Linked DNA regions of Homo sapiens: regions 1, 2, 4, 5 and 6 are each linked to region 3. The links are contacts of gene promoters, found by promoter capture Hi-C in human tissues and cell types (Jung and others, 2019). All regions are on one chromosome and are shown on one strand. Each heading gives the region's core, a stretch centred on a gene start or on the middle of the fragment in contact. The rest is flanking DNA. Distances are from core to core; before and after follow the strand shown. Region 1 overlaps CAB39 (calcium binding protein 39). Region 2 has its middle 80 kb from the start of LINC01907. Region 3 holds the start of SP140L (SP140 nuclear body protein like). Region 4 overlaps SLC16A14 (solute carrier family 16 member 14). Region 5 has its middle 98 kb from the start of LINC01907. Region 6 has its middle 36 kb from the start of LINC01907.

Evidence for each region. Contacts are between HindIII fragments. The study calls those that stand out against the background at their distance.
Region 1: a fragment that was not itself captured here is called in contact with the fragment with the promoter of SP140L in region 3 in 2 of the 25 tissues and cell types used here (mesenchymal stem cells and spleen).
Region 2: a fragment that was not itself captured here is called in contact with the fragment with the promoter of SP140L in region 3 in 1 of the 25 tissues and cell types used here (lymphoblastoid cells).
Region 4: a fragment that was not itself captured here is called in contact with the fragment with the promoter of SP140L in region 3 in 1 of the 25 tissues and cell types used here (mesenchymal stem cells).
Region 5: a contact is called between a fragment that was not itself captured here and the fragment with the promoter of SP140L in region 3, in 1 of the 25 tissues and cell types used here (spleen).
Region 6: a fragment that was not itself captured here is called in contact with the fragment with the promoter of SP140L in region 3 in 1 of the 25 tissues and cell types used here (pancreas).

Annotation. Positions count from the first base shown.
Region 1 is chr2:230,775,464-230,779,205 of GRCh38, reverse strand. The region is part of intron 2 of CAB39 (calcium binding protein 39); the gene reads right to left. Among named protein-coding and RNA genes, the nearest start is that of CAB39, 64 kb to the right of the region's middle. The HindIII fragment of the contact is 5,711 bases long and covers 1-3,742 here.
Region 2 is chr2:230,618,863-230,622,702 of GRCh38, reverse strand. No RefSeq gene overlaps it. Among named protein-coding and RNA genes, the nearest start is that of LINC01907, 80 kb to the left of the region's middle. The HindIII fragment of the contact is 3,569 bases long and covers 429-3,840 here.
Region 3 is chr2:230,324,842-230,328,978 of GRCh38, reverse strand. SP140L (SP140 nuclear body protein like) reads right to left here and starts at 1,786. Exons shown (of 19, transcript NM_138402.6): 1 at 1,678-1,786; 2 at 148-222. The coding sequence starts at 1,709. RefSeq lists an enhancer at 1,643-2,112. The HindIII fragment of the contact is 8,396 bases long and covers 1-4,137 here.
Region 4 is chr2:230,051,673-230,055,751 of GRCh38, reverse strand. The region is part of intron 2 of SLC16A14 (solute carrier family 16 member 14); the gene reads left to right. It overlaps LOC107985996 (a long non-coding RNA gene), which reads right to left. Exons shown (of 2, transcript XR_001739919.3): 2 at 3,998-4,079. Among named protein-coding and RNA genes, the nearest start is that of SLC16A14, 15 kb to the left of the region's middle. The HindIII fragment of the contact is 4,211 bases long and covers 422-4,079 here.
Region 5 is chr2:230,600,326-230,604,196 of GRCh38, reverse strand. No RefSeq gene overlaps it. Among named protein-coding and RNA genes, the nearest start is that of LINC01907, 98 kb to the left of the region's middle. RefSeq lists a silencer at 1,408-1,487 and an enhancer at 1,628-1,757. The HindIII fragment of the contact is 4,784 bases long and covers 1-3,871 here.
Region 6 is chr2:230,662,918-230,667,070 of GRCh38, reverse strand. No RefSeq gene overlaps it. Among named protein-coding and RNA genes, the nearest start is that of LINC01907, 36 kb to the left of the region's middle. RefSeq lists enhancers at 1-653, 3,341-3,530, 4,081-4,153. The HindIII fragment of the contact is 5,990 bases long and covers 1-4,153 here.

The sequences.
Region 1 (3,742 bases), core at 41-2,540, 450 kb before region 3:
TCCCATGGGGCCAGGCATATTAATTCTAAACTATGGAGCCTGACTTCCACATATGATCAAATGATAACAACTTCATCTTTAATTACATTTAATAATTTTTTAAAGTTAAAATATTTAAGTGTTAGGATCAACTTAAGTAGTAACCAGTATCCCAAAGTTCACACCTAATGCTCACCTCACTAATAACAGTATCAGAAACTAAACTTTCCCTCCCAGGGTGAGGACATAGGTAACTATAGTCACGCACCACATAACGTCTTGGTCAACAGCAGACCACAGAGACAACTGTGGTCCCACAGATACAATACCATATTTTTGCTGTACCTTTTCTATGTTTAGATAAACAAATACTTGCCATTGTGTTCCAACTGCCTACAGTATTCGCTATAGTAACAAGCTACACAGATTTGTAGCCTAGGAGCAACAGGCTGGAAGAAATCGCCTAATGATGCATTTTTTGGAATGTATCCCTGTTGTTAAGTAACGTGTAACAGGACTTCAAATTTTTAAGGATAGAGTCCATAATAACCTCTTCAAGTAGCACTAAGGCTATGAGATTTTTCACTGCCTGCTTTCCCATTAAAAAATAAAACAGGGTGGGAAAATAAGCAATTAGTAAGCTAAACATTAGTACAAATGGCCTTTTCAGAGATCACCAAAACCTCAGGAGGTTTCGTATTAACTCTCTTGACTTAAATCCAATATTCCCACGGTACCTATCAGTGCACTATTTTACTGTCACTAGAGGCAATTGCTGATAAAAAGTAGTGATACAAAAGTACAATTTCAGAAGACTCGAGAAGACAGCTCACATACCCATTAGTGCTTCTATGCAATGTCCTTGAAGTACTCACAGCCCTTACCAACACTCCTCCTCTGGACTCAAGCACTCAGTAGATCCAAACCGGCCTTACGTTAGGAAACAAGGTGACAAGAAGGCTACTTCCACATGAAGGGACAGGACTTTACTTGGTGAGATACAAGACTGGGCTGCCCTCTTCACTGTCCCCAATTTTTAGTAGTTAGTAGCAATTCTAACCTCAATATAGAAAGCACACTTAAAGACAAACATAGTAACATGCTGAAGTATACAAATGGCTAAGTCAGACATTAAAAACCTTACAAAAGATTCTATTTCATAGTAATAGTAACAATCTTAAAAGGATAAAATATTCTTCCTTCTTATCAGAGGCAAAGGCTTTTAGATACGCCACTGGTAGGAAAATAAATTGGTACAACTTTACTGGAGGGCAATTTGGCAAAATGTTATTGAAGAGTTTTAAAAGGTGCAAGGCCTCTGACTCATTTCTGCAACTTCCTGTGAATTATACTTTCAGGAATTTACCCTATGGAAACAGACAAGTACACAAAGGTAAGTACATGCAGTGTTACTTACAACAGCAAAGAATTAGAAGTAAAAGTTATCCCACTGAACTAGTTTAATCATTACGTACCCATAAAATGGAAGAACCACGGCAGGCTTTAAAAATAATTGAGGGCCAGGGGTGGTGGCTCACACCTGTAATCCCAGCACTTTGGGAGGTGGTCAAGGTGGCGATCACTTGAGGTCAGGAGTTCAAGACCAGCCTGGCCAACATGGTGAAACCCCATCTCTATTAAAAATATGAAAATCAGCCAGGTACCTGTAATCCCAGCTACTTGGGAGGCTGAGGCACAAGAATTGCTTGAACCTGGGAGGCAGAAGTTGCAGTGAGCTGAGATTATGCCACTGCACTCCAGCCTGGGTGACAGAGCAAGACTCCATATTTAAAAAAAAAAAAACAAAATTGAGATCTATATGCACATGAAAAGATGTTAAAATTTAAAATTAAAAAAAAAAAAACAAAAAAAACACCAACAGGTTACAGAGCAGCATGACCCCATACTCATTTACTTATCTGCCCCAGAGAGAGGGAGAAAACAAGCTAGAATATGAATGAGAATCCCCACCAAGTTAACAGTAGTCATTTCACGTGGTACTGAATTAAGGATAAACTTAATTTTTTTCTTTATAGTCTTGTATTTTCTGCTTTTTGGGGGAATGAACATACATCATATACATCATTAGAACATGACTTTGTATAGATACAGAAATAAATTAGAATCTATGAAGGAAACAAAGATCTTTCTCGCACACACTCATACACACTTCCCTACTACACAATGTAGAATTCCAATATACTAGTTAGAATAAAGTAAAACTAAAAAAGTGGATGAAAGGCCAGGTGCGGTGGCTCAAGCCTGTAATCTCAGCACTTTAAGAGGCTGAGGCGGGCGGATCATGAGGTCAGGAGATCGAGACCATCCTGGCTAATACGGTGAAACCCCGTCTCAACTAAAAATACAAAAAATTAGCCGGGCGTGGCAGGCGCCTGTAGTCCCAGCTACTGGGGAGGCTGAGGCAGTAGAATGGCATGAACCCAGGAGGTGGAGCTTGCAGTGAGCCGAGATCGTGCCACCGCATGCCAGCCTGGGTGACAGAGCGAGACTCCATCTCGGGGGGGGAAGAAAAAAAGTGGATGAAGTGAGACAGAGCACCTGGAACCATGACCTACTTGTTTCTCCAGAGCAATGAACTAGTGACACTCACAACCACTTGTGTGGATCTCATGGGAATGATGCTGAGTGGAAGAAAGCCCATCTCAAAAGTTTACACACTATATGATTCTATTTATTTAACATTCTTGAAGTAATAAAATGTATAGACTTGGAGAACAGATAAGTGTGATGCAATTGCATAGAGCTATATGCATATCCACACAAACTGTAAAACTGGTGAAATCTGAACAAGCCCTGTGGATTATACCAATGTCAATGCTCTGGTTTTGATATTGTATATAGTTATGTGAGAGGTTACCACTGGGGATATGGGTGAAAGGTACATGGGTTCTCCTGTACTCATTTCAGCAACTTCCTGTGAATTAATTAATTTCAAAATAAACAAAACAAAGTAAGGCAACATAAGACTTCTATAGCGTAAGACCTCTTGCACTCCCCCTCAGTATACCCTTAGGTTGTCTATAAGGCCCTTTTCATTCTACCAAAGCTTGTTTCTCTAGTCTTACTTCCTACCATTCCTCTTTATCTCCACCTCTTAAAGTCACACTGAACTTGTCACTGTTTTCTGAACATGCCATAGGTTGTTTCAAATTCTGTTCCCTTTCACACTTTGCCTGCCAAAAACCTTAAAAATCAGCTTAAACGTCACTTCAAACCTGTCATCTCTGTATCTGTCTCTGACAGACGTAGGAACTGCTTTATCCTCTTGGTTCCCACAGAATTTTATCTGCGCCCCCAAGTCCCTCTATATTATATTATTTACATGTGTATCTCCTCTACTGGATTATATACTTTTTTAAGAACGGGGACAAGGTTTGACTCCTATGCCTATCTGCCCACACAGAGAGGCACTAAAATGTCTGTGGATTCAATCAAACTGGGGATCTCTTGCAAGAGATAATGATGCAAGTAAAGACAGTAGACAACAACAAAGGCAACCATGCATGAGGAAAACGTTAACTCCAATGCGCACCACTGTTAAGTCATCTTTTTAGAAATAATTTTGAAGGGATCTATTTAGCAAAATTTTCCATACCTGTGTTCATTAGTTTACATAACTGAATTGATTCTAACTTACATATAACTAGTTATTGTTAAGAAATGCCTCAAAGAGGCCAGGTGTGGTGGTTCATGCCTGTAATCCCAGCACTTTGGGAGGCCACAGTGGGAGGATCACCAGGTC
Region 2 (3,840 bases), core at 964-3,463, 290 kb before region 3:
TCTTGCTTCTCTAGTTCTTTTAATTGTGATGTTAAAGTGTCAATTTTAGCTCTTTCCTGCTTTCTCCTGTGGACATTTAGTGCTATAAATTTCCCTCTACACACTGCTTTAAATGTGTCCTAGAGATACTGGTATGTTGTGTCTTTGTTCTCATTGGTTTCAAAGAACATATTTATTTCTGCCTTCATTTTGTTATTTACCCAGTAGTCATTCAGGAGCAGGTTGTTCAGTTTTCATGTAGTTGTGTGGTTTTGATTGATTGAATTTCTTTTTTTTTTTTTTTTTTTTTTTGAGACGGAGTCTCGCTCTGTCGCCCAGGCCGGACTGCGGACTGCAGTGGCGCAATCTCGGCTCACTGCAAGCTCTGCCTCCCGGGTTTACGCCATTCTCCTGCCTCAGCCTCCCGAGTAGCTGGGACTACAGGCGCCCGCCACTGCGCCCGGCTAATTTTTTGTATTTTTAGTAGAGACGGGGTTTCACCCTGTTAGCCAGGATGGTCTCGATCTCCTGACCTCATGATCCACCCGCCTCGGCCTCCCAAAGTGCTGGGACTACAGGCGTGAGCCACCGCGCCCGGCCGATTGATTGAATTTCTTAATCCTGAGTTCTAATTTGATTGCTCTGTGGTCTGAGGGACAGTTTGTTGTGATTTCTGTTCTTTTACATTTGCTGAGGAGTATTTTACTACCAATTATGTGGTCAATTTTAGAATAAGTGTGATGTGGTGCTTGGAAGAAGTTATAGTCTGTTGATTTGGGGTGGAGAGTTCTGTAGATGTCTATTACGTCTGCTTGGTCCAGAGCTGAGTTCAAGTCCTGGATATCCTTGTTAACTTTCTGTTTCATTGATCTGTCTAATATAGACAGTGGGGTGTTAAAGTCTCCCATTATTATTGTGTGGGAGTCTAAGTCTCTTTGTAGGTCTCTACGGACTTACTTTATGAATCTGGGTGCTCCTGTATTGGGTGCATATATAGTTAGGATACTTAGCTCTTCTTGTTGAATTGATCCCTTTACCATTATGTAGTGGCCTTCTTTGTCTCTTTTGATCTTTGTTTTGGTTATGGTTAAAGTCTGTTTTATCAGAGACTAGGATTGCAAACCCTGCTTTTCTTTTTGCTTTCCATTTGCTTGGTAGATCTTCCACCATCCCTTTATTAGAGCCTATGTGTGTCTCTGCATGTGAGATGGGTCTCCTGAATACAGCACACCGATGGGTCTTGACTCTTTATCCACTTTGCCAGTCTGTGTCTCTTAATTGGGACATTTAGCCCAATTTACATTTAAGGCTAATATTGTTATGTTTGAATTTGATCCTGTCATTATGATGTTAGCTGGTTATTTTGCCCGTTAATTGATGCAGTTTCTTCATAGCGTCGATAGTCTTTACCATTTGTCATGTTTTTGCAGTGGCTGGTACTGGTTGTTGCCTTCCATGTTTAGTGCTTTCTTCAGAAGCTCTTGTAAGGCAGGCCTGGTGGTGACAAAATCTCTCAGCATTTGCTTGTCTGTAAAGGATTTTATTTCTCCTTTGCTTATGAAGCTTAGTTTGGCTGGATATGAGATTCTGGTTTGAAAATTGTTTTTTTTTTTTTTTAAGAATGTTGAATATTGGCCCCCACTGTCTTTTGGCTTGTAGGGTTTCAGCCGAGAGATCCACTCTTAGTCTGATGGGCTTCCCTTTGTGGGTAACCCAGCCTTTCTCTCTGGCTGCCCTTAACTTTTTTTCCTTCATTTCAACCTTGGTGAATCTGACAATTATGTGTCTCGGGGTTGCTCTTCTGGAGGAGTATCTTTGTGGTGTTCTCTGTATTTCCTGAATTTGAATGTTGGCCTGCCTTGCTAGGTTAGGGAAGTTCTCCTGGATAATATCCTGAAGAGTGTTTTTTAACTTGGTTCCCTTCTCCCTGTCACTTTCCAGTACAGTAATCAAATGTATATTTGGTCTTTTCACATAGTCTCATATTTCTTGGAGGCTTTATTCGTTTGTCTTCACTCATTTTTCTCTAATCTTGTCTTCTTGCTTTATTTCATTAATTTGATCTTCAATCACTGATATCCTTTCTTCCATTTGATCGAATCAGCTATTGAAGCTTGTGCATGCATCACGAAGTTCTCGTGCCATGGTTTTCAGCTCCATCAGGTCATTTAAGGTATTCTCTAGTATTTATTCTAGTTAGCCATTCATCTAACCTTTTTTCAAGGTTTTTAGCTTCCTTGCAATGGGTTAGAACACGCTCCTTTAGCTTGGAGAAGTTTGTTATTACTGACCTTCTAAAGCCTACTTCTGTCAACTCTTCAAAATCATTCCCTGTCCAGTTTTGTTCCCTTGCTAGCGAGGAGCTGCGATCCTTTGGAGGAGAAGAGGCGCTCTGTTTTTTGGAATTTTTAGCTTTTTTGCTCTGGTTTCTCCCCATCTTTGTGGTTTTATCTACCTTTGGTCTTTGATGTTGGTGACCTACAGATGGGGTTTTGGTGTGCATGTCCTTTGTGTTGATGTTGATGCTATTTTTTTCATTTGTTAGTTTTCCTTCTAACAATCAGACCCCTCAGCTGCAGGTGTGTTGGAGTTTGCTGGAGGTCCACTCCAGGCCCTGTTTGCCTGGGTATCACCAGCAGAGGCTGCAGAACAGCAAATATTGCTGCCTGATCCTTCCTCTGGAAGCTTTGTCCCAGAGGGGCACCCGCCTGTTTGAGGTGTCTGTTGGCCCCTACTGGGAGGTGTTCCCCAGTCAGGCTACATGGGGGTCAGGGACCTAACTGAGGAGGTAGTCTGTCTGTTCTTGGTGTTCAAATGCCATGCTGTGAGAACCACTGCTTTCTTCAGAGCTGTCACACAGGGACATTTAAGCCTGCAGAAGCTGTCTGCTGCCTTTTGTTCTATTATGCCATGCCCCCGGAGGTGGAATCTATAGAGGCAGTAGGCCTTGCTGAGCTGAGGTGGGCTCCGCCCGGTTCATGTTTCCAGGCCTCTTTGTTTATACTGTGAGCTAGTCAAGCCTCAGCAATGACGGACTCCCCTCCGCTCGTCCAGCTACAGCATCGCAGGTTGATCTCACACTGTTGTGCTAGCAGTGAGCAAGGCTCTGTTGGCATGGGACCCGCTGAGCCAGGCATGGGAGGGTATCTGCTGGTTTGCCAGTTGCTAGGACTGTGGGCATAGTGCAGTATTTGGTCAGAAGTATACCATTTCTCCAGGTACAGTCTGTCATATGGCTTCCCTTGGCTAGGAAGGAGAAATCCCCCAACCCCTTGCACTTCCCAGGTGAGGCGACACCCTGCCCTGCATCAGCTCACCCTCCATGGGCTGTATCCACTGTCCAACCAGTCCCAGTGAGATGAACCAGGTACCTCAGTTGGAAATGCAGACATCAACCGTCTTCTGCATTGATCTCGCTAGGGGCTGCAGACTGGAGCTGTTGCTATTTGGCCATCTTGGAAGTGACCTTCTCTTCTCTTCTCTTCTCTTCTCTTCTCTTCTCTTCTCTTCTCTTCTCTTCTCTTCTCTTCTCTTCTCTTCTCCCCTCCCCTCCCCTCCCGTCCTCTCCCCTCCTCTCCTCTCCCCTCCCCTCCCCTCCCTTTCCTTTCTCTTTTTTTCTTTCTCTCTCTTCCTTTCCTTTCCCTTTCTTTCTTCCTTTGTTTCCCCTTCATTTCCTTCCTTCCTTCCTTACCTCCCTCCGTCCCTCCTTCCTTCCCTCCCTCCCTCCCTTCTCTTTCTCTCTCTTTCTTTCCTTTCTCTCTCTCTCTCTTCCTTCTCCTTTCCTTTCCTTTCCCTTCCCTTCTCTTCCTTCTCTTTTCTTCTCTTTCTCTTTCTTCTGGGCTTCACTCTTTTGACCAGACT
Region 3 (4,137 bases), core at 537-3,036:
AAACACCTCAACTGAATCACATTGGCAAAAAATAAACAAAAAAATTATGGAAGAGGAAATTTCAGTGGCCAAGAAACATGAAAAGCTGTTCAGCTTTCCACATTATCAGGAAAATACAAATTAAAACAAATTGTAATTCTTCATCACCTTTGCAGACTTTGGCTGTGTGCAGGAAGATGGTTCATCTCATTTGCTACTTGTGAAACACCTCCGTTCAGCCCCCTAAAAAGACAATTTGGCAGGATCTATAAACAAGTAAATAACAGCACCCTTTGCTTCAACAATTCCACTTTTTAAGGTTTAGGCACAAGAGAAATACTTGCATATGTGCAAAAAAAAGAGAAATATATAATCATTATTATAGCTTATTGATAAACGTGAACAATTTAAAACAATCTAAATGTCCTTCAATTGGAGAATGGTTAAAAAATTATGCTATGTAAATTCTATGGAATAGTATATGTAAAAAGAGTGAGGTAGATCTATATGCATTAAGGTGAAAAGATCTCTAAGATTTCCACCATTAAAATGAGTAGAAATGCAAAATGCAGAATAGCACGCACAATGTAATTCCATTTATTACAAAACGAGAACACAAATTATATGTTTACAAAAACATACTTCATACACGTAAATGCATCGAAAAATATGAGAAAAGTTATGCCGAAGACTCTTCACAAGACTGTGAAAGGAAGCTACAAGGCGAAGTGAGTGGTGAAGAAGACTTTTTCGTTTATACACTTCTCCACTGTTTGAAATTTTATGAGTAAGAATGTAATGTATTTCTTTTGTATTAAAAAATTTAAAAGATTAAAATCGCTTGAACCCAGGAGACAGAGGTTGCAGTGAGCCGGGATTGTGCCACTGCACTCCAGCCTGGTTGACAGAGTGAGACCCTGTCTCAAAAAAATGAAATAAAATAAAAAGATTACGTAATGTTATTTATAAACTCGTTACTAGAGAAAAGATAGGATTTCCATCTCTTTTCTGGTCAGAGGCATCCCCCATCTTGGGACAGGAAATTGAAGTAAAAATAAAAATATTTAGCTTTCTGCCATCCTGGGCCTTTTTCTTCTTTTTCCTTCTTTGGATCAAGGTCAATTGTATCAGAACTCACACCCTGAGTCAGTCAAGGAAATAGCCCCAAAGCTGACTGAGGCCCCTTGCCAAGACAGGTGAAACCACAGTTTCCAATGTTTAAAAGTAAGCCAGCTGTTTACCCTGGAGTGTCTATTTCCAAACTACCTTCTTTGACATGACATATGTGAAGGTAGAGAGGGCAGAGGGATGTGAAAGGGTTGGGAGATCATGAGGAAATGTTTGTTGAAACACAAACATATAATTTGTGTTCCTCATTCTCATGAGGAAATAATAACTCTCAGTCACAAATGACTGAAACGACTGTTCAGAGTGTCCCCGCCAGCTGAGCAGTAGTTTCAAAACAAGAAAAGTCATCTGTGTTATGGCAAGCTGGACTCACACAAACAGCTGTCCTGCTGCAGTTGTAAAAATCTGATTTCCTTATTACATTCTCTTTTATTCCATTATATTACACTACCTACCTATGTTCTTGCAAAGCAGGACTAAACTGAAGCTTTAGACAGAAACTGAACTACAGGCATGAAAGCTCCAATACTGCCAGAGATAAAGGTGAAAGGAAGAGAGATAAAGACTCACCTGGTGCTCAGGTCGCTGCCCCCACCTGCCATCGTCCCACCCTAGGCCCTGCCTGGGTGTCAGAGCCTGGCCTATGAGCTCCCCAGTCGGCCCAGCCTGCGTGCAGTGTGGCTGCCCTGACCCGGAGCAGGAAGTCGGCCGACAGACTGACTCACCCTCACAGATTTCTGCCCAAATGGGGAAAAGAAAAGTGAAAGTATTTATTTAACTTCCTGCTGGGATACAGACACCGTGTTTCTCCTCCTTTTTCACTCCAAGGGGTTCTCAGCTTTTCTGAAATGTGGCAGACGGTTGGAGGAGAGGCCTGACAAGCAGCAAGACCTGCAGGACCAGGGAAAGGAGGGCCCAGAGGACGAGCAGGGCTGGCTTCCGGGAGTCCACTTGCTTGTGCAATGGACAGCAAAAAAAAAAAAAATGTCCTTGAACCAAAATAGTCCTTAGCTGCTCTGCCCTCTTAAGAGGGGGCATAGTTTACATGGGAGTTGGGGGGAAAACTCCATGTTTGCCCCTTCCCCTTGCTGAAATGGCTGGGGGTGAGAGTTGGAGGGTTGGAGGGAAAGCCAGAAACTTCAAATCTTCTCTCAGGCCCATGGGAGAGCATGGACTGGACTAAGGTAGGTCCTGACATGGGGACCCAGGGCTGGAGAGAACCAAAATGCTCAGCATTATAACCTGGGGAGAGTGTTCTTAGCCTTCCTGGAAATCAGCCAGAAGTAAGAGAGAACTCTCCACACCCCTGGGACCAGAGGCTGGAGCCAGCATGGTAAGAAAGGCAAACATTTTAAGGGGCAAGGGTTTAAGGAATCTTGACTATGGGGCCACCTTGGAACAGCCAGGGATGAAGAGAGCTTCGGAGAAGTCACTGGAATCTTGAGAGAACAAAAGCTTCTCATTGGAGGAGGATGGAGGTTGGAACCCAGATGATCTAGACATGGAAGGGCAGGGTGGCTCCCGCGGGAGGTTCTATCTCTTCCCAGATTTTCCATTTAGATTCTGATTCAACATTCCTCAGAGAACAAGAAGCGACCGAGAAGACTCGCTTTACATCAGTATAAAGTCATAGGTAAAGAAATAGAAGCAAAGGGCGCATGAGAATGGGGCCACAGGACACAACCAGGGACCAGAACTCCAGGCTGGACCATGGGGCAGAGACAGGGAGGCAGCTGGGAGCCTGGGGGCGCTGGAATCCAGGGCCCAAGGTGAGCAGAGGGTGGAAGCTGGTGAGGATTCAGGGGCCAGAGGGGATGGTGCTCCAGAGCCATGTTTTCCAAATTACATTCTGCTGAATCCAACTTTTTCCAGCCCCCACCCCCAGCCATCTCAGCAAGGGGAAGGGGCAAACATGGAGTCCTCCCCCAACTCCCATGTAAACTATGCCCCATCTTAGAGGGCAGAGCAGCTAAGGACAATTTTGGTTCAAGGACTTTTTTTTTTTTTGCTGTTTATTGCACAATAGTTGGAAGCTGTGAATGCTTGTTCAGGTACATTTGAAAATACGAGGGTGGGGGGTTTCTACCCTGATTCTACTGGTGCCCTGCTTTCCCCAAAATGAGTTAATAAGCAGGTGCCAAGACACTGGTGAGGACAGCTTTTCCAGTGGGCGAGGTCACTGTTTCTATCAGGTACTGCACACCTGTAGGTCTCTCTCTCTCTTTCTCTTGCTCGCTCCCCCATGACTCCCCAGTTTTATGGAGGCACAGTGGCTGGTAAGCTGAGCATCTGTTGGGCACAGTTGTCCTCTGATCCCAGTCTCCATGGAGCACAGCAGCACTGACAAGGCCTGGCGCGGACCACACCAGTCGGCTCTGGCGTCTGCACTCACCCCTCTCACTGCTCTTGGGCAGCAAGCAGGCCCAGGCCACTGAGTGGCACTGACATATGTACCAGCTTTTCTCTGGGTGTGCTTAGGGGCTGGAATTCCAGACCAATGAGCTGGCTGGAAATCTGCAAGTGTTGACCTTTACAGGTGGACATGCCCTTGCTAGGGCAGCTCCTGACAGCAGGGAAGGAGATGTTCTTGTCAGACAGGGTTGGAAAAAGCTGAGCACACACCACACTCTGCAAAAGCAATGCCAGTTAATGGAGAATCTCTAGGCTTCTGTGGGAAAAGCAAAGTTTCTTTGATCTGGAATACATCAGACACACCTGGGTTGGGAAAGGGACAGGACCAAATTAAGAAGTAGTATGAAGTTCTAAAAATCCTGCTGGATTGTTTAGAAGGAAATAATGGAACTCCTGGAGCATTTTCTATGGCTGCAAGGAGTACAGGCAACAGGGAATGTTTTTGCTGTCACAGAAGTAGTTCCAGTTACTGGAGCCTGGAAAACTCAGAAGCAGGAGAGGCAGTGATTGAGGAAGAACCACAGGCAGGGCACCCATCCAGGTGATGGGCCTTCGTGAGCTTCACCAAAAGCAGCTTCAGTTCAGACTTCAGTGGCGAGGGGTGGGGAGGGGCTGTGA
Region 4 (4,079 bases), core at 1,278-3,777, 270 kb after region 3:
CAATATTTTCCAAACCATCCAATAAGTTGGTCTTAGATATTATGTTTCATAAGTCCTATGAAAATAAGCAACAGAAACTAGTTCTGAAATTATTGGATATGGTTTTAAAGATGATCCCCAAAATAAGAACCCCTAACTCATGGTGAAATGTGATGGTCATACTTAATTTAATTGACAGGTAACTGTGTGTTCAGAATTTTGTTTGAGAGTCCCTGAATTCCAGACTGTGGAATTTCAGATTTTAGACTAATCTTTCTACAGGGAAAGCTGCCTGCCAGATAAACATTTTTTGCTGAGTTTCAGAAATCATAACATAACACAGCAGGCCTCATAGTTATATAAATGAAAGGTCTTTTATTCTATCTATTTACCTAAAATTATTGTCCATTATCCCAAGCTTCCTGGTACAGGGTGGCTGCAGATTTGTTGAGCAGCCTCAGGGAAGCTTTCCAAGCCAGAAACGCGCAGTAACAGCTCTCCTTTATTTAGCACGCACTGCATGCCACATGCACGTTAATGTACATGATCTCATTTGATCCTACAACACTGGAGGCCAGACCATTGTCTGTATCTTACAGAGGAAGAATATGCAACACTCAGAGACATTAAGTAACTTACTGAAGGTTGAACAGCCAGTAAGTGTAGAACTGGCTTTAAACCTGGTCCATGGGACTCCAAAATTGTGTCTACTATGACACTGCCTGCCATTACATCAAATGAGAACTGAAAACATACTTGAAATGAATAATACAAATGGTTTTTACGTTCTAATCATTGTAAGCACATTTGGGCTACCTGTTAAATTTAGAAAGGTCCGTGGTTTTTTCTTTTTTTCTTCTTCTTTTTTTTTTTTTTCTGAGATGGAGTCTCGCTCTGTCGCCCAGGCTGGAGTGCAGTGGCACGATCTCGGCTCACTGCAACCTCTGCCTCCTGGGTTCCAGCGATTCTCCTGCCTCAGCCCCATGAGTAGCATGAATTCATCACCATCCTGCAGAAGGTCCCAACTTTTAATAAAACGTAATCACCTCATTTGTATTGTAAACCACAAAATATCTGAGACTGGTCTCAATCAATCCGGAAGTTAATTTAGCCAAGGGTAGGGAGGTGCCCAGAAGAAATAAACACAGAATCACAGAAACAGTCTGTTACCTGTGCCTTTCTCCAAAGATGATTTTGAGGACTTCAACATTTAAAGGGGAAAAGGGGGCTGGAGGAGAAAGGGAGGGTACAGTCATCCACGTGTTGCAAGAGAAAAGGTGCAGATAGGGGAATCATCAATTTTGTATTCATCTCACACTCAGTAAATCAGCACTTTTACATAAAATAAGGTGAACATAGAGTAGCTACCTGTGGAGCTATATAACCCTTTCTCTGTGACTAACTGCTTAGGAATAAAAGGAAAGGCAGTTGCTTGCATGACTCAGCTTTCAGCTTAATTTTTTTCTTTTGGCAGAGTGAATTGGGGTGCCAAGTCTGTATTTTCTTTTCACAGTATCTACAGCAGCCTTTGTGAGGCTAGCTCTGAATCATTCTTGGGGGATGCCCTATTGTTGGGGGAATCCACAGGCTACACAAGATAAATGACTTGCTAAATCACTTTATAGCAGTGATTGTCAATCTTGATTGCACATCAGATCCACCTGGGGAGCTTTAACTTCCCCCCCCACCTCAGGCTGCACCTGGGATGGGCTCCAAGTATCAGGATTTTTTTTTAAGCTCCTAAGCAACACCACTGTTCAGCTAAGGCAAACAGTTCATTGATTTAGAGGCTCCTAACTCTTTACTATGGTGAGGGGTTACCCTAAGAGACCTGGAGTTCAAAGCATCTGTAACCATCCCTGAGAACTGCCAAGGCTCACCTGTGATTGCTCCTCTACCAGCGCTTTTTTCCAACCTGTCAGCTGCCAGGATGGGTCAATAAAATATAACTTCCTGAGGGTGTTCCCCACAGCAGTGGGACACTTTTTTTTTTAGATGAAGTCGCACTCTGTCACCCAGGCTGGAGTGCGGTGGTGCGATCTCAGCTCACTGCAACCTCTGCTGCCCAGGTTCAAGCGATTCTCCTGCCTCAGCCTCCCAAGTAGCTGGCATTACAGGCATCTGCCACCACACCTGGCTAATTTTTGTAGCTGTAGTAGAAACGGGGTTTCACCGTCTTGTCCAGGCTTGTCTTGAACTCCTGACCTCGTGATCCACCCACCTCGGCCTCCCAAAGTGCTGAGATTACAGGTGTGAACCACCACACCTGGCCAGGACACTTTATTACAGTGGGAAATGGTCCAAGATTCAGATTTCTTCTGAAAATGAAAAAGTCAGATAATGTGAATAATCTCATCCTAAAACACTGAATTACTCTATAAAAGTGTGAGTCATGGTCAAAGGATTGTATCTCAATTGTATGATTCCCCCTTCTCCTTAGATTGTGAGGGGACTTCTTTTATTTTCTGGAAATGGTGGTTTGATTTTGGCAATGCTAGTGGACCATCAGTAAACAGTGGGTAGAAAATGAAACTCAGCTGGCACAGTGGCTCACATAATCCCAGCACTTTTGGAGACTGAGGCGGGTGGATCACCTGAGGTCAGCAGTTTGAGACCAGCCTAGCCAACATGGTGAAACCCTGTCTCTACTAAAAATACAAAAAATTAGCTGGGCATGGTGACAAGCACCTGTAATCCCAGCTACTCAGGAGGCTGAGGCAGGAGAATCGCTGGAATCCAGGAGGCAGAGGTTGCAGTGAGCCGAGATGGCACCACTGCACTCCAGCCTGGGCAACAAGCGTGAAACTCTGTCTCAAAAAAGAAAGAAAGAAAGAGAGAGAGAAAGAAAGGGAAGGAAGGGGGGGAGGAGGGAGGAAACTGAGAGTCAAAAAGCTTGGGTTTTTATTTTTTTTTCAATGTACATATATTTTATAACCATGGAGAAGTCACAGCATTTCTGGGTCTCGCTTGGCTCATCTGCAAATCATAAATGACTGAAGCCCCAGCATGCGAGAGTTGATTAAGTTGTAACAGTGCCTGGCTGTTTAGTTAATGTTTTTAGCAGTTAAATAGTTATACTTTTTTAAATTTATAAAATTCCTCCAGACATGAATATTTGCACTGAGTTTGGAATTTTCTCCCTTTTTTTTTTCTCAAACGCCTTTTTAATGTAATGTTTCATAAAGCACCTCAGAAAAATTTGCTTCTGGGCCCTTTCTGTGAAGTGGAAAATATGATTGTGCTACTGAACTGTGATCTGTTGACCTTTGAAAAGGCTACAAACAGCAAACTGACAAGTCATGCATTTTTCTTTTTTTTACCCACTCATCCAAGCTAGGCATAGTCAAGTAACCATGGGTTTAGAAAAACAAAAATAAAAATGTGTAAAGAAATCAGACAAGTATCTCTAACTTACGGTATGTGAATTTCAGTTAACCCCAGTAATTCCATCAGATTTTTTATCAGTGCATTTATTTTATATATTATTTCTATAATGTGCATATTTAATAACAAATAACATTTATATAAAGTATGTTTAGGCCGGGCGCGGTGGCTCACGCCTGTAATCCCAGCACTTTGGGAGGCCGAGACGGGCGGATCACGAGGTCAGGAGATCGAGACCATCCTGGCTAACACGGTGAAACCCCGTCTCTACTAAAAATACAAAAATTAGCCAGGCATGGTGGCGTGCGCCTGTAGTCCCAGCTACACGGGAGGCTGAGGCAGGAGAATGGCGCGAACCCGGGAGGCGGAGCTTGCAGTGAGTCGAGATCGCGCCACTGCACTCCAGCCTGGGCAACAGAGCTAAACTCCGTCTCAAAAAAAAAAAAAAAAAGTATGTTTAATATATTAAGTCTATTCTAAGGAGTTAATTTACTGAATTATTTCCTGTAATGCAACAGAGTTAATTAAATTAATAAGTCTTCACCTTCATAGTTTTTAGGATTAGGCACCCACAAAACCACTAGACAAAATAAACTCATTAGCTGACTGTACCCAGATATACACATGAATATAGTTAGAACTTTAAAGGAAACTTTATTTCAGTTTAAGCCAAAAGGGAAGCTCTTTAAACAAGTTTTTAATATAGTTCATCTGCA
Region 5 (3,871 bases), core at 363-2,862, 280 kb before region 3:
CTTCCCCCAGGTGCTCTATCCCAGGGAGGTCAGAGTTTTATCTATAAGCCTCTGACTGGGGCTGCTGCCTTTCTTTCAGAGATGCCCTGCCCAGAGAGGAGCAATCTAGAGAGGCAGTCTGGCTACAACAGCTTTGCTGAGCTGTGGTGGGCTCCACCTATTCCGAACTTCCCAGTGGCTTTGTTTACACTGTGAGGGAAAACCCACCTACTCAAGCCTTAGTAATGGTGGACGCCCCTCCTCCCACCAAGCTCAAGTGTCCCAGGTCAACTTCAGATGGCTGTGCTGCCAGCAAGAATTTCAAGCCAGTCAATCTTAGCTTGCTGGCCTCCATGGGGGTGGGATCTGCTGAGCTAGACCACTTGGCTCCCTGGCTTCAGCCCCCTTTCCAGAGGAGTGAATGGTTCTGTCTCACTGGCATTCCAGGCGCCACTGGGTTATGGAAAGACAAACTCCTGCAGCTAGCTCGGTGTCTGCCCAAATGGCTGCTCAGTTTTGTGCTTGAAACCCAGGGCCCTTGTGGTGTAGGCACCTGAGGGAATCTCCTGGTCTGCAGGTTGCAAAGACCATGGGAAAAGTGTAGTATCTGGGCTGGAGTGCACTGTTTCTCATGGCACAGTCCCTCATGTCTTCCCTTGGCTAGGGGAGGGAGTTTCCTGACCTCTTGGGTGTTGAAGTGACACCCCACCCTGCTTTGGCTCACCCTCTGTGGGCTGCACCCACTGTCTAACCAGTCCCAATGAGATGAGCCAGGTACCTCAGTTGGAAATGCAGAAATTACCTGCCTTCCATGTTGATCTTGCTGGGAGCTGCAGACTGGAACTGTTCCTATTTGGCCATTTTGCCAGCCACCCCCACCTAATCCCTATTTTTAATTTTTTGAGGAAACTTCACACTGTTTTACGGAATGGCAGCACCAATTTACATTCCTACCAACAACATATATGTGTTTTCTCTACATCCTTGCCAAGACCTGTTACCTTTTCACCTTTTGATGCTAGCCATCTAACAGGTGTGAGATGGTATCTCACTGTGGTTTTGATTTTCATTTCCCCGAAACTCCCTGGGAGGGGATTGGGGATCTGTCTTTAGGCAGACAGGGGGAGTTCAGGGAAAACGTCTCTCTGCCTTTGGTCTTTCTCAAGTGTCTTCAGCTCAAAGTGATCGGCACACCAAAGCAGCATATTTTGGGGTGGCATTTCCTGAGCTCTTTCAACGGGCTCAGGGCAGTGGCTTTTCCCTAACTGGGTTAAAAGCGTGTTAATGCTTCAGTACTGTGTAGGGCTTTAGTGTAGCACCCTAGCTGGACATCAGCCCCACCAGGTATGGGTGGGGTTCTGGGAAAGGGCCTGGGCTCTCAGGTGGCTGCACTTGTGATAGCAGCTGACTTCCTGTAAGTGCACTGGTGCAGGAAGTGAGCCCTGCTTCCTGTCTGTGTTGCTGGGGGTGGGTGGGGGTGTGGGGGCGGGGAACAGAGGGGAAGCCAGGCCCTTGAACTTGAACTTTTGTCATGCAGGCACTGCAGCTGGGGGTTGGTGGCCTCCTGGAGGGTGCCTGAAAGGGACTCTGGCAGTGCAGCTCCTTCCTCGGGGCAAGAACCCTGAGCTGGGGCAGTGATTTCCCTCCCCTTGATTTCCTCACTTTTGTTTTGTTTTCTCTTTTTTTTTTGAGACGGAGTTTTGCTCTTGTCACCCAGGCTGGAGTGCAGTGGCATGATCTTGGCTCACTGCAACCTCCGCCTCCCGGGTTCAAGTGATTTTCCTGCTTCAGTTGCCCAAGTAGCTGGGATAACAGGTGTGCACCACCACGCCTGGCTAGTTTTTGTATTTTTAGTAGAGATGGGGTTTCACCATGTTGGTCAGGCTGGTCTTGAACTCCTGACCTCAAGTGATCCACTAGCCTTGGCCTCCCAAAGTGCTGGGGTTACAGGTGTGAGCCACTGTGCCTGGCCTCATATTCTCTTAAACCATTAAATTGGACGGGTGCGGTGGCTCACGCCTGTAATCCCAGCACTTTGGGAGGCCGAGTCAGGTGGATCACTTGAGGTCAGGAGTTTGAGACCAGCCTGGCCAACATGGTGAAACCTCCATCTCTCCTAAAATACAAAAATTAGCCGGACATGGTGGCGGGGCCTGTAATCCCAGCTACTGGGAAGGCGGAGGCAGGAGAATCGCTTGAACCCGGGAGGTGGAGGTTGCAGTGAGCCAAGATCATGTCACTGCACTCCAGCCTGGGACACAGAGTGAGACTCGGTCTCAAAAAACAAAAAACAAAAACCCCCAAACCCCCCAAACTATTAAGTTTTGCAGCCAAACCTCATTCGTCCTGGGTGTGGCTGAATCCAGGGAGGAGGGGAAAGCTCCATTATGCGGGCTTCAGGCCCACACCTGTGCCACTGTTTTGCCGTCACCTGAAACCAGCAGAAAAAGCAGCTCAACTGTGGCTCTGAGAAACTTCTGATATTGGTCATGACATTCATTCTCTACAAAATCCCACTCTCAACTAAGCTGAGCCTCCCTGCCCCCGCCAATTTATTTTTCTGTCCCCAGTTATGCTCAGCGCTATTGTCTGTCCCCACGCTCCAGAGAGCAGCATGTGATAGCTTAGTTGGACTAATTAACACGAAGCTCCACATTCAAATAACATGAGTCCTCTCCCATTATCATTATTATTATTATTTATTGTAGCAAAGTATACATAATAGTTATCATTTCATTGTTAATATATATGACTATTTAGCATTATCAATTTCTCATTTAGTCATTTGTAAGTGTGCAATTCAGTGGTATTAAATACATTCACAATACATTCGTGTAAACGTCACCACTATTTCCAAAACTTTTTTGTCATTCCCAATGTAAACTCTCTACCCGTTATACAAATAACACCACATTCCTTCCCCCTCCTCCCATCCCCTGGTGACCTCGATTCTATTCTCTGTTTCTATGAATTTGCTTATTCTAGGTACCTCAGATCAGTGGAATCACACATTTGTCCTTCCATGTCTGGCTACTTTCACTTAGCCCAGTGTTTTCAAGGTCCATCTACACTGCAGCACATATCAATATTTTATTCCCTTTTCATGGCTGAATACCATGCCATTGTGCATGGCCACTGAATGCTCTTGTAAACATGGGTATGCAAATATCCAAGGTAATGCTTTCACTTTTTACGGCTATACCGTATAACTAGAAGTGTTGGGATTTATAGGGTTAAGCCACTGTGCCTGTCCTTAATTTACTTTGGATATATACCCGGTAGTGGGAATTGATGGATCCTATGGTAGTTTTTTTTTTTTTTTTTTTTTTTGAGACTGAGTCTTGCTCTGTCACCCAGGCTGGAGTGCAGTGGTGCGATCTCGGCTCTCTGCAACCTCTGCCTTCCGAGTTCAAATGGTTCTCCTACCTCAGCCTCCCGAGTAGGTGGGACTACAGGTGCATGCCACCACGCCTGGCTAATTTTTATATTTTCAGTACAGATGGGCATTTCACCGTGTTGGTCAGGCTGGTCTGAAACTCCTGCCTTGGCCTCCCAAAGTGCTGAGATTACAGACCTGAGCCACCGTGCCCCGCCCGTATTTTTTATTTTTTGAAGAACCTTCACGCTGTTTTTCAGAATGGCTGCAGGAATTTACATTCCCACCAACAACATTTAAGTGTTTTCTTTTCTTTACATCCTTGCCAACACTTGTTATCTTTTGACCTTTTGGTGATAGCCATCTAACAGGTGTGAGATGATATCTCATTGTGGTTTTGACTAGCATTTCCCCGATGTTTAGTAATGTTGAGCACCTTTTCATAAACCCCTTAACCATTTGTATATCTTTTTTGGAAAAATGTCTATTCAGGTCCTTTGCCCATTTTTCAATTGG
Region 6 (4,153 bases), core at 731-3,230, 340 kb before region 3:
GTTTTGTCATACATTCACCAGGCCTGCCTGGCCCCAGAGGCATTAGCCTTCTCACTTGCAGAAAATCCCCTGATGAGTTAAGCCAGATGTTGATGAGATCACTCCAGGGGTCCTGAGAGGGAAGGAGAAAGGTGGGTCTGGAGAGCATATGCCCCAGCCCTCAGGGGAGAGAGTGCTGGTGTCCCCAAGCAGCAAGTTCTCCAGTACTCACAGTATCCAGGAGGTGACCAGAGACCTGGGGGTGGGAGACAGGTGGGGCACCTGGGCTGGTACCAGGTGGCCAGCCTTGGCAGAGATCTCCCAAACTGTCGGGGACATTAGGAAACCACACCAGTGAGCTTGGGCAGCAAAGAAGCTGGGGCGACTTTGATGTACAAAAGATTAGGAGCCCTTCTGTGTGTTCAAGGCATCAGAGCCTCCTGGGTTCCGGTGGGTGAAAGGGGAGGTCCCAGTGGAGATGGAAAAGGAAATCTAGGTCAACCTTTCCAAATGACGTTGGCCTTGGAATGCGGTTGATTCAAGGGCAATAAAGAAAGTGTGTTAGGGCTGGGCGTGGTTGCTCACACCTGTAATTCCAGCACTTTGGGAGGCCGAGGTGGGTGGATCACTTGAGGTCAGGAGTTCGAGACCAGCCTGGCCAACATGGTGAAACCCCGTCTCTACCCAAAATGCAAAAATTAGCTGGGCGTAGTGGCGTGTGTCTGTAATCTTAGCTACTGGGCAGGCTGAGGCGGGGGAATTGCTTGAACCCGGGAGTCGGAGGTTGCAGATAGTGCCAAGATAGTGCCACTGCACTCCAGCCTGGGCAACAGAGTGAGACTCCATCTCAAAAAAAAAAAAAGTGTGTTATTTAATCCCCATTATACAAGTAAGGAAACTGAAGCTCGGAGCAGGTAAGGCTCCCAAGCTCACAGTGCTGGAAAGTAGCAGAGCCAAATCTCCCCCAGCCTTGGGTCACTGGAGCGGCTAGTTTCAACAAGGTCACACTGCCGCCGCCCCCACTGCAGTGGGCCGCCATGGGTCTTCTCGGTCAGCACTCACTGCCCGCTGGCTCTGCAAACCTCATTCTCAACCTGCGTTTGAACTGGAAGCTTTCGCTCTGATTCTCTCCCTGTTTCCAGGGTGGGTTTTTTTTTTTTTTTTTTTTTTTGAGATGGAGTCTCATTCTGTCACCCAGGCTGGAGTGCAGTGGTGCAATCTTGGCTCACTGCAACCTCTGCCTCCAGGGTTCAAGCAATTCTCCTTCCTCAGCCTCCCAAGTAGCTGGGATTACAGGCACCCGCTACCATGCAGGCAAATTTTTTTTTGTATTTTTAGTAGAGATGGGGTTTCACCATGTTGGCCAGGCTGGTTTTGAACTCCTGACTTCACGTGATCAGCCCACCTCGGCCTCCCAAAGTGCTAGGATTACAGGCATGAGCCACCGTGCCCGGCCTCCAGGGTGGTTTTAAGAAGGCAAGTCCGTGGGATCTGCCAAGTCATCTCATGCAGAGCGTTCAGGAAGATCATGGTCCCCCTGCCAGTTCCTGCGGTGTTCTTGAGGTCAAATAATATTCTTGTGGTTCGCTCATTCATTCATTCACTCACTCACTCAGCAAGCACTGAGGGAGTACATGAGGGACTGTGGATATGGCAGTGAACTATAGACCTGGTCCCTCCCTCCAGGAGCTTGTAGCACTTTTGTCTGGTGGCAACACGTGGTGTGGAGAAAAGAAAGCTGCTCAGCATGTTAGGGTATGCAGCAGGGTGGAGAGCTGTTGTCATTAACACAGGGAGGTCAGAGGAAGGCTCTGGTAGATGCTAGTGAAAGTCTGAAGGGTAAGGGAGTCAGCCCAGGGCTCCAGGGGGAAGGGCCTCCGAGGCAGAAGGTACCAGAAATGAAAAGGCCCTGAGTCAGGAGCACACTTCCCTGTGGCTGAAGTGATCCTGGGAGTCCACAGGAATCCATGGGAACCTGTGAGCCATCATGGAGATTTGGGAAACACGAGAGGGCTGGTCTGGCTGTGTGATGAGGGTGGTTGGGGCGGCTGGACGTGCAGGAAGGAGAGAGATGTCATGATCTACGTGAGTCGGGACAAAGGATGGACCAGGGTGGTGGCTGTGGAGGCGGGAGGAGCAGTCAGACTCTGGATGTATGTCTAAGGAGGATGAGGGCTTGGATATGGGGAGGAAGAAGGGGAGCCCTAGGTTTTTGGCATTCATCTTCTGGCAGTCTTTCCTTAACTTTCCACCACTAGGGCCAGCCTCTGAGTTCATCCTCACCAGGTTGCTGCGACAGGGAGGGCAGGCTCTGTGTCCTCATGTTTGCCTTTTGCTTTAATCCTCACTCATCTTTACTTGCTTTAGCCCATGGGCTCTGGAATGAGGGGCCCTTGGAGCCCCCCACTTCTGATCCTGAGGTGGGGGGCAGGCAGTAGAAGCTGGAAGGAGAGCCTTCCTTAGCACACAGCCCCACACCCCACTTCCCATCCTTTCTTTTGAAGAGTGGAGGGGGATCCTCTGAAAAGCAGCGATGAGGAGTGCTCCCCCATCCCCACCCCCTCTGCACTGTGCTCCAGCCAAGGCCTGAGAAAGCAGCGCAATGTCAGGGAGACCCAAGGGGTGGTGTGGCAGAGGGTGAGAGAAATGAGACAGCACCTCAGCCTGTGAAAGTGGAGGCTGCGTGGATGCCGGTGCACATAAGTGAGTGGGGAGGGGGAGGGAGAAAATCTTCCCACCACTAGACTGCCCATACCATGCAGACTCAGAGACCTGCAGCCCAGGCTCTGCCCCTCTCAGCTCTGGGCTCTCCTCCCAGTCCTGGGGGTGGCCCTGGGCCAGGGCTGTGATGCACCGCCCACCCTCACTGCACTTGAGCTCAGCTGAGAGCATATGCTGGGCACCTACCCAGTATCTAGTTTCCCCTTCTTCCTTACTAACAGCATCCTGCCTTTGGGGGGTGGCAAGGTGTCCAGCTCAACTACTTCCTTGGATCCTTTGTATGTAGTGGTGGTCATGTTGACCTAGTTCTGCCCAGTGGAATAAGAGCAGGAGTCAGTGGGTGGAAATTTACTTTTTTTTTTGTTTTATTTTTTGAGCTGGAGTTTCACTCTTGTTGCCCAGGCTGGAGTGCAATGGCGCGATCTCAGCTTACTGCAATCTCTGCCTCGTGGATTCAAGTGATTCTCCTGCCTCAGCCTCCCGAGTAGCTGGGATTACAGGCCCCCGCCACCACACCCAGCTAATTTTTTCTCTTTTTAGTAGAGATGGGGTTTTACCACGTTGGTCAGGTTGGTCTCAAACTCCTGACATCAGATGATCCACCCACCTCGGTCTCCCAAAGTCCTGGGATTATAGGCATGAGCCACCATGCCTGACTGGTGGGTGGATATTTAAAAAGAAACAGATTCAACTGGCATGCTCTTTAGCCCTTTCTCTTTGATCTTTGACTTCATCGTTTTCTCCTTCTAACTTTTTGGAAGACAGTTTGGACGCCTGGAGGTGCAGCAGCCATATTCAACCATGAGGGGAAAAGCCAGATGCTAAGTGTGGTGGAGGAGAACAGGAGGAGTCCTGATGTTGGCTGACCCCTAAGCGATGGTACCAGCCCTTGACTGCCAACTCTAAACTTCCTTTTTTGTATGAGACAAAAAAAAAAAAAAAAAAAAAAAAAAAAAAAAAAAATCCCTGTTACTCTAGTTTTTAGTTACATGCAGGTGAACACAGTCCTAATTGATACCCAGGTCATCTCATGCAAAATCTGGTAGCTACTTCTGAAAGCCCAGCACCCACCCCAGCTAGCCTAGGGCAGCCCAGCCCATGGGTGGCTGACCTTGGGCCATGCCTCTACCCTGACCCCACTGCACAGAGGTGATGGCCCGCAGGAGTACAGTGTGTGGGGCACAGGCTCAGAGAGGTTGAGTAACTTGCCCGGCATGGCTCTGCTAATAAAGAGCAGAGTCAAATGTCAGTGTCAGATCTTGTGTCTCAGAGGCACTGTCTCTGCTCTGATATCAGCGTGGGTGGAAGTGGGCAGGGAAATGGGAGTTCAAAGCCCAACAATTCTGATACGATTCCCTAGGAAGAACCATAATAGACCATAGAGCATCTCCTTGAAGGCTTTGCCAAATGTTGCCTCGATGAGGCCTGCTCTGACTACCCTGTTCAAAATGCT